2 separate regions of the Homo sapiens genome follow, and region 1 is linked to region 2. Evidence: promoter capture Hi-C in 16 types of primary human blood cells and fetal thymus (Javierre and others, 2016). All regions are on one chromosome and are shown on one strand. The core of a region is centred on a gene start or on the middle of the fragment in contact, and the rest is flanking DNA. Distances in the headings are between cores, read along the strand shown.

Region 1 (4,996 bases), core at 2,442-4,941, 680 kb before region 2:
GAGCAGTCCCAGGTAAAGGCCCTGTAAGGACCCCCACATAGGCCCGCAGCAGGCAGCAGCCAAGGAGGTCTCAACCACCCATGCCGAGACTGCCAGGACGGCACTGGGCAGGGAAAAAGAGACCTCAGTGCGAGCGCTCTCAGAAAAGCAGTGTCAAATTCTGCCCCCACTGCGGGAGGCCGCAGGATCTTACCCTCATTCAAGTCTAGTTCAGGAGCCTGCAGGGATGGGGCCAGGAAGGCCACTGCAGCCAGTGCCCCTGCAGTTCCAGCTGCACCTTACATCTGGAGTTCAGAGGCTAGAGAAAGACTGGAACTTGGGATCCCAGGCTCAGGGCCCTGCCCTCTTCCCTTTTATTCCACCAATCTCTTGGGTGGGGAGTGGCGTGGGGAACCAGAAGCACCAGGAAGCCTGGGAAAGGAGAAGCCACTGCAGCTGCCCCAGACACCCCACCCCATAAAGGTTTAAAGAATGGGCCCTCACCCCATCTGGCAATCAGCGGAGGGGGTGGGGCACAAAGGCGAGCAGACACTGGTCAAGCTTCCACTTCATGTAAACAAGGAGGCCGTGGCACTGACCCCTGCCCAGCCACCGACAGTCCGGTGGAGGCGTGTGACTGAGATGCTTCGGACCCTCTCATTTGGGATCCAGCGTCCCTGAGGCCAGGACGGAGGCTGCAGGGCAGAAGGCCAGTTGGCGTCTGATGTGCAAACTGGTGCAGTGTGCGACCTGCGCTCTCCACAGCACAGGGCAGGGCAGGCAGGCATCCACACGTCCTGCCCACCACCATCCCGCAGCTCAGGAAATCACACAGTTGCTAGGCTTGGCAGAACTGGGACTTGTTTTACCTGCAGAGGCAAGGGACAGAGGCGGGGAAGGATGTAAGTGAAACGCTTGGTGGATTCAGCTTCAGTTCCTACCCTGTGTGCTGTCCACATCTCCAGTTGAGGGGCTGGGGTCACTGTCTCCCTCCCAAGCTGCTGATCTGGAAACCAAGTCAATAGGGCACCCGGGAAAGTAGAAGGGAAGATTCTGCCTGTCTCAGCAGCCTCGGCAGGAGCCCCACTGGGTGGGACATCAAGGTGACAGCCATCTCCTGACCAAAGAGGGGTCGGGGAAGGATCCAGGCTGCAGAATCAATGACAACAACCATCAAGTCCAAAGTCTTGGCTGCTCTGTCTACAGACTAGCCATTCTTTTGTTTCTTTACTTTTCTAATAAACTTGCTTTCACACACACACACACACACACACACACACACACACACACACACACACACACACGTCTAGCCAAGAGGCCGCTCACTACCAGCTAGTACATGCAGCTCCACCGCCTGCAAAGTAAGACTGCGGTCCTTCTCTCTGGTTCCCCTCCCGGGCTGCCGCATTCTACCGCTGAGGTGCCCACAGCTCCCAGAGCCAGCCAGCGACAGTGCCAGAACCTGGCCTTCCCGGTCCAGTTCCAGCTCCTTCCGCCACAGGCCGCCTAGGCTGGAAGAAGGAAAGCTGGCGCCTCAGGAAAGGCTGGCGCTGGCCAAGAGCTGCCACCGTGGGGTGGATCACACTGCTTAGGACGCGCCTTTGAAGGGAGGACAGAGAGGAACGCGCTGCCTGTAGGGAGGGAAGGGGGAGAGAAAGCTGTCCCCCGCCCCCGGCCAGAGAAGCTGATTTCTCTTCTTCCCCAGGCCTCTACCATTCCTTCCCACTCTCTTTACAGTCCTGAGATGAGGCCTGCGGTTCCTTTGGCTGGATTCCTGCTCTCGGACCTCCGGAGGGAGTGCAGGGGAGTAGCGAGGCAGGCCTGACACCTGCAGGCCTGCGAGGTGTCAGGCGCTGGAGCGGGGAGCCCATGTCCTCGGAGCGCTGGCTGCCTTTCCCCAGGTGGAAGGCGCTCGTGTTATTTCCTGCCAGTTCCCCTCCACACAGCAAGGGCTGCCTCTCTGGTGCTCACACAACCTTCCAGTATCACTTCAGCTGTGAATTTAATTAAGGCCATGTCTGCCTCCTCTCCTGGGCCATGAGCAGGACCCACTGAACAGAGCCCAACTTGGAGCCCTGCCCTGCCACACAGGCTGCTGCTCCTGCCCACTGCACTGTGACCCACGGCCTCGGGCCTCATCCATCCAGGCAGACTGAACGAGCTCTTCAGGACTGACCACAAATCCAGCTGCACCCTCATTAAGGGTGTTCCCCCACCTTTGGGCAGGAGGCTGCGCCCCAAGGGCTCCATGGCCAAGGCGCTGGGGGTCACTTTCCGCAGTGGTGCCGAGCACGTCTGGGGCGGCTCTGCTAGTGGGATGAAATGCGGCCATCTTAGAGTCACTCACTGCTGCAATGGACACATTCGTCCCCATTTCCCCCCATCAGCTGGTTTGATTTGCGTGGCCCACTAAGCAGATGTCAGTTCCTCCCCAGAGGCAGCAGCATTTTGGAGGCAGGTAAGCAAATCAACCTCCAGATCGTTAAACAGGGGAGGCGGTGTAGCTGGGGGTGGGATGGTGGTGGGTGGTGGTGGGGGTAGCTGCTTCCCAAGCCTGCACACCACCCGGCTGGCTGCCTCCGGGAGAAGCCTGGCAAGGCAGGGGCAGGGCCCATCTTCACCAGCACCATGCTCCCCACTTTTTTGTAAGGCAGGGTGAAAGCCTGGAGACAGCACCTAGACTCAGAATTCATTTCCTAGCCCCGGACAGGACAGAGAAACTGGCTTGGCTTGAGGACAAACTCTGTGTCCCTTGTCATTCCCTGAGTGCTCACATATTGGGAGCTGACCACGTGTGGGGAGTCAGCCCTGCTCAGGTGAACAGGGAAGGTGTATAAATGACCAGAATAGTCTTTTTTACAAAGTATGCGTGGCCTGGGAGCTTCAGAGGTGACGCCAAGGTGGAGCTGAAAACGGGTGCAGGGTGGGAGGAGGGGCCGCTCAGCGGAGCGGAGCCATGTGACATAAGCATGGGGTGAGGGTGGCAGCCTGGGGCACTCGGGACCTGCAGTCAGTCTGGTTTGCTGGCAGGTGAGGTGGTGCGGGAGAGAGGGAGGCAGAGGTCACCCACATGGAAGCCATGACAAGGACAATGATGTGCAAACCGCATGCACAGGCTCCAGGGCTTCGCATTCCCTGTATCTGGAAGAATCTTCCCTCAGATGTCCACAGGGCCCTCTCCTTCCATTGAAGTCTTGCTCCGAGGCTCCTTGGTTAGAGAGGCCTTCCCTGGCACCCTTTATAGAAGGGTCATCCTCCCCTAATCCTCGTCTCTCCCCAGGGTAACATGCTCCATAAAAGCAAGGACCATGTTCATTCTGTTCACAGCTGTGCCAGGAACTTAGAGCAGGGCCTGGCACAGAGCAGACACTTCGTAGACACATATTTATTGAATAAAATGCATGAGACAGCAACGGCGAGCTACTTAGGGGTTTAGCACAATCCTAGTAACAACAGTAATAACAGCAGCAGATGCCCCAGACGCAGCAAGAGCAAGAGAGAGATCTGAGACCTGCGGCCCCAAGGGATGACACAGGAGAACAAGTCCCCCAATCCAGCGGCCCAGCAGCCACAGCTCTACAGAGCCAGACCACACTGCCAGCCAGGGGGCCAACCACACATAAATCCAGGGACCCCAGGAGAGTTCTGGAAAGGGACTGTCACTGCAGGTCACCTCAGAGAAACTGGGAAGCAAAGCACAGGCCCAGGGACTCTGGGGCAGGAAAGGACCCCGAGGCACTCTGGGAAGCAAGTTGCTGCTGTCATCTTCCTCTCGGCCCCCACAACACCGTGGGAAAGGGCTGGTCCTCTATTTGGGGCTCTGGTTCTTCCGAACAGTTTTTTGTTTTGTTTTGTTTTGTTTTTTGAGACAGATTCCTACTGTGTCACCCAGGCTGGAGTGCAGTGGTGTGATCTCCACTCACTGCAACCTCCACCTCCCGGGTTCAAGAGATTCTCCTGTTTCAGCCTCCCGAGTAGCTGGGACTACAGGCAAGTGCCACCATGCCTGGCTAATTTTTTGTATTTTTAGTAGAGACAGGATTTCACCGTGTTAGCCAGGATGATCTCGATCTCCTGACCTCATGATCTGCCCACCTAGGCCTCCAAAAGTGCTGGGATTACAGGCATGAGCCACCACGCCGGGCCCAAACAGTCTTTAAAGGTGCAGGGAAACGGTGCCGATCCTAGCCTTCTGGAGATGGCCATGATATCTGCAGAAGGCTGGGGAGGCAGGAGATCACACTGCCCTTTCTCCCTGGGCAGCCACGGACACAGGGCCTGGCCTCTCTGAACCTTGGGGGTCTCATTGTGAGATGCTGTCATCAGGCAGGATGGCAGCGAGGAGGACGCCAGTTCCATGTGATGGAGTATGGCACCATGTCTCTCGCCACTTCAAAAGTGTTGGCCATTTCCCAGTCATCTCCCTGGGGGAACTGGGTGGGGTCTCAGGCACAGCACAGGGATCTCCTCCCCTAGGCTGGCAGCACTCAAAGGGCAGGGCCTCATCTGTGTTTCCTCAGTCGCCACGGAGTCGGCTGGTCTGAGGACCCTCTGCACTGGGGAGCTACACTGGAAAATGAGGGCCCTAATTTAAAATGCAGATTCCTAAGCCCTGCCCAGTGGTACAGACTCTATTTGTTGGATTTTATTTTTATCTTTAAAAATTCTATTATTATTATTTTGAGATGGAGTCTCGCTCTGTCACCCAGGCTGGTGTGATCTCAGCTCACTGCAGCCTCTGCCTCCTGGGTTCAAGTGATTCTCCTGCTTCAGCCTCCCAAGTAGCTGGGATTATAGGCACCTCCCACCATGCCCAGCTAATTTTTGTATTTTCAGTAGAGACAGGGTTTCACCATGTTGGCCAGGCTGGTCTCGAACTCCTGACCTCAGGTGATCCACCTGCCTCGGCCTCTCCAAGCGTATTTGTTGCATTTTAAAATTTGTATTTACTTTTGCTTTTATTTTTTTGAGACAGGGTCTCTCTGTCGTCCAGACTGGAGTGCAGTGGCACAATCAC
Region 2 (3,027 bases), core at 24-2,523:
GAGGTCACAGCTGGCCTTGGGGTAGCCCCTGGGGTCCCTGACAGTCTAGCCCATTCCTAGTCTAAGCCCACAAGGAACGGGCCCCAGGCCTGCAGAGGCCAGAACCTCGAGTGGGAGTTTCTGGGATACAGCCAGCCAAACCCAGGGAGCCCCAGAAACCCCCTCTCCAGACCCCAGCAGGGCTTCTTTCCATGAGGTGCCACTCAAGGCACCTGAACCCCTCCCTCTGTGCTCACTGTCTCTGACCCATCCTCTCCCTGACCACCCGTCTGAACAAGAGCCCACTCAGCCCTCTGCACTGAGGACCCTGCCCCCCAGCTAGGCTGGAGGCCACCCTGGCCTCTTCACTGTGGGAGCAGACCTTTCTCCCAGACACCCGCCTTGGGCATCCAGGTGCATGCTGAGTGGGAGGGGTGTTACCGGTTCATGAAATGTCAGAGCCCAAGGGGGCCTCAAGAAGGCTCCGCCCACCTTGTCTATAAATTGGGAAACTGAGGCATGAGAGAGGAGATGACACTCCCCACCTCGGAATTGAAGTCCTCATTTCTCGAGAACATTTCCTGGGTGGCTCCCAGCCCAAGGTCACGCAGAGAAGGAGAGGCAGTTCCCGGGTGGAAGAGAGGTACTCAGTTCCCGACTCATCGCTCCACACGGGCCGGGCTAGGCAATACGAACCCGGTTCCCGGCCCTCTCCTCCTCCAACGTCCATCGCAGGCGCGGCATGCACCCCACCGAGATGGTCCACGCCCTGATCCACCCCCCAAAAAAGGCCACCTTAAACCCTGGCTCCGTCCCCACGGTCCCCAGTCCGCCCTGGCGGCCGCGCACAATCCGAGCCTTTCGCGGCATAGCCGCGGCCTGGAGGTCACAGCAATCGGGGCGGGAAGGGGGGCGCACGAACCGGGGGCCCCAGGAAACCAGGGCTCCGGGAGCCGGAGCGGCGTCTCCCGCGAGCACCAGGGATCCCGCCCGCCCCGGGCCCGGGAAGGAGGAGCGGCGGCAGCGGGCCCCGCAGGCAGGACAGCTCCTCGCCCGCCGCCGCGCCGCCGCCGGGGGCCCGTTGGGGTCGGGGTCGGGGTCGGTCCGGGCGCGCCGCCTTTGCTCACACCCCCACCACCCCGGCCTGGCAGAGCCGTCGGCCAGTCCGTCCTTACCCAAGACACGACGCGCAGGATGGTGTGCGGCTGCCGGACCAGGGTGTAGGGGTCGAAGGCGCCCCCGGCTTTGCCCGCTCCGTACGCACCCCCTTCCATCGTGGCTGCACCCGCGCGGTGCCCCCCGCTCGGCGCGCGCCGCCGGCCCGTGCGCGTGCGCGGCGCCCCCGCCCCCTCCCCTGCGCGCGCGGCCGGCGGCCCAGGGCTCCCGCGAGGGGGCGTCGTGCGCGGCGGGCGCAGCTCGCGGGGCGCGGGCGGGGGGCTGGGCAGCGCGCGACCTCGGGCGCGGGGGCGCGCGTGCTGCGGCCCGGGGCTCAGGGCGCGCTCGCAGCCAGTGCGGTGACCTCTTTGCAAAGTGTTTGGGGGAGGGCGGTGCGTGCACAGCAAGTGTGGGCCGTGTCCCTGCCCCGCATCCCCGGTCCCCTGCCCCGGTCGCAGCCCCTCTGAGCCGTCGGCTCTGCTGAAACCATCTTCACGCTTGATTTGTTTGGCTGTTTCCTGCCACTTTGTCGGCCCCAAATATAATGAGAGGGCAGGAGCTGTGTTCGTCCTTCTTAGAGGGTGCTTGGTACGCAGTAGGCGCCGCATGAATATTTCTCGAATGAATGAACCACGAGTGAATGACCCTCTCTTACAGCCCTCCAGAGCAGCCCCCACCTCCCAGGACCACCCTTCCCCTGCCTCTTACGATGACGTCATGTGTGTCCCTGTGCCCGCGCACCCTCCCACCCCCAGCCTGGAGGGGCCTGGCACAGAGGCGGCGGCTGAGACTTCCTCTTCCCCATCCCCTCCTACCCCAGAACGTTGCCCCTTTCCTGAATCTAGCAATTAATTACGCAATCATTTGTTCATGGCCTCTTCTGCTGCTAGTCTGTGAGCTCCCGAGGCCCAGGTGTTGTCTAACTTATTCAATGCCTTACCCAAGGGCCTAGCATACAGTAGGTGCTCAGTAAACAGAGCCTAGTCCCCATCACCCCATCACAGCTTGGGCTAGACCTCCAGGTTTCATGGAAACGGAGGCTAGATGGAGGAGTGCTCCCTGCAGGGGAAGGGCCACCTTCCAGGGCTGGCTCTCCTGCTGCCCTGTAGCTCTATGGCCTCTCTATGTCTGCAGTCACCTTCACTGGTTCCAGGAGCAGGTTGGATGAGGATATGGGTGGAGGCTTTTGCTTCTCTGGTATCCTGCCATTCTGTGATGACAGGACACAACATCTGTGTGGAGGAAATGTGTGCTGGGCCTGAGGGTGCTCCTTATAAAAATTACATAGTCAATGTCCATCTTAGGCTCAGCTGATTGTTTAGTCTCTACCAGGCCTTGTGCTAAGGGCTTTACATACATTTTCACATTTAATCCAGCACACTTATAAGGTGTCTACTATGACTATATAAAACTTTTAGAAGAAAGCACAAGAGAAGGCCGGGCGCAGTGGTTCACGCCTGTAATCCCAGCACCTTGGGAGGCCAAGGTGGATGGATCACAAGGTCAAGTGATTGAGACCATCCTGGCCAACATGGTGAACCCGGTCTCTACTAAAAATACAAAAATTAGCCGGGCGTGGTGGCGAGCTCCTGTAGTCCCAGCTACTTGGGAGGCTGAGGCAGGAGAATCACTTGAACCCAGGAGGTGGAGGTTGCAGTGAGCCGAGATCGCGCCACAGCACTCCAGCCTGGCAACAGAGCGAGACTCCGTCTCAAAAAAAAAAAAAAAAAAAAAAAATCATGAAGAACATGATTCATAAAAGAAACAATTGATAAACTGGACTTTATCAAAATTAAGAACTTCTGTTCTTTAAAAGACATTGTTAAAAGAATGTATGAAAAGACAAACGATAGTCTGGGAGAAAATATTTGCAAAGCATAGATCTAAAGAACT

The links. The method cuts DNA at HindIII sites, captures the fragments that hold promoters and counts their contacts. A CHiCAGO score of 5 or more calls a contact.
Region 1: a contact is called between a fragment that was not itself captured here and the fragment with the promoter of SYNGR1 in region 2, in 1 of 17 cell types (total B cells). The highest score is 5.2, in total B cells.

Annotation. Positions count from the first base shown.
Region 1 is chr22:40,025,368-40,030,363 of GRCh38, reverse strand. It overlaps FAM83F (family with sequence similarity 83 member F), which reads right to left. Exons shown (of 5, transcript NM_138435.4): 5 at 1-848. The coding sequence ends at 799. Among named protein-coding and RNA genes, the nearest start is that of TNRC6B-DT, 17 kb to the left of the region's middle. The HindIII fragment of the contact is 6,298 bases long and covers 543-4,996 here.
Region 2 is chr22:39,348,237-39,351,263 of GRCh38, reverse strand. It overlaps SYNGR1 (synaptogyrin 1), which reads right to left and starts at 1,273. Exons shown (of 4, transcript NM_004711.5): 1 at 1,155-1,273. The coding sequence starts at 1,253. RefSeq lists a silencer at 1,067-1,226. The HindIII fragment of the contact is 7,483 bases long and covers 1-3,027 here.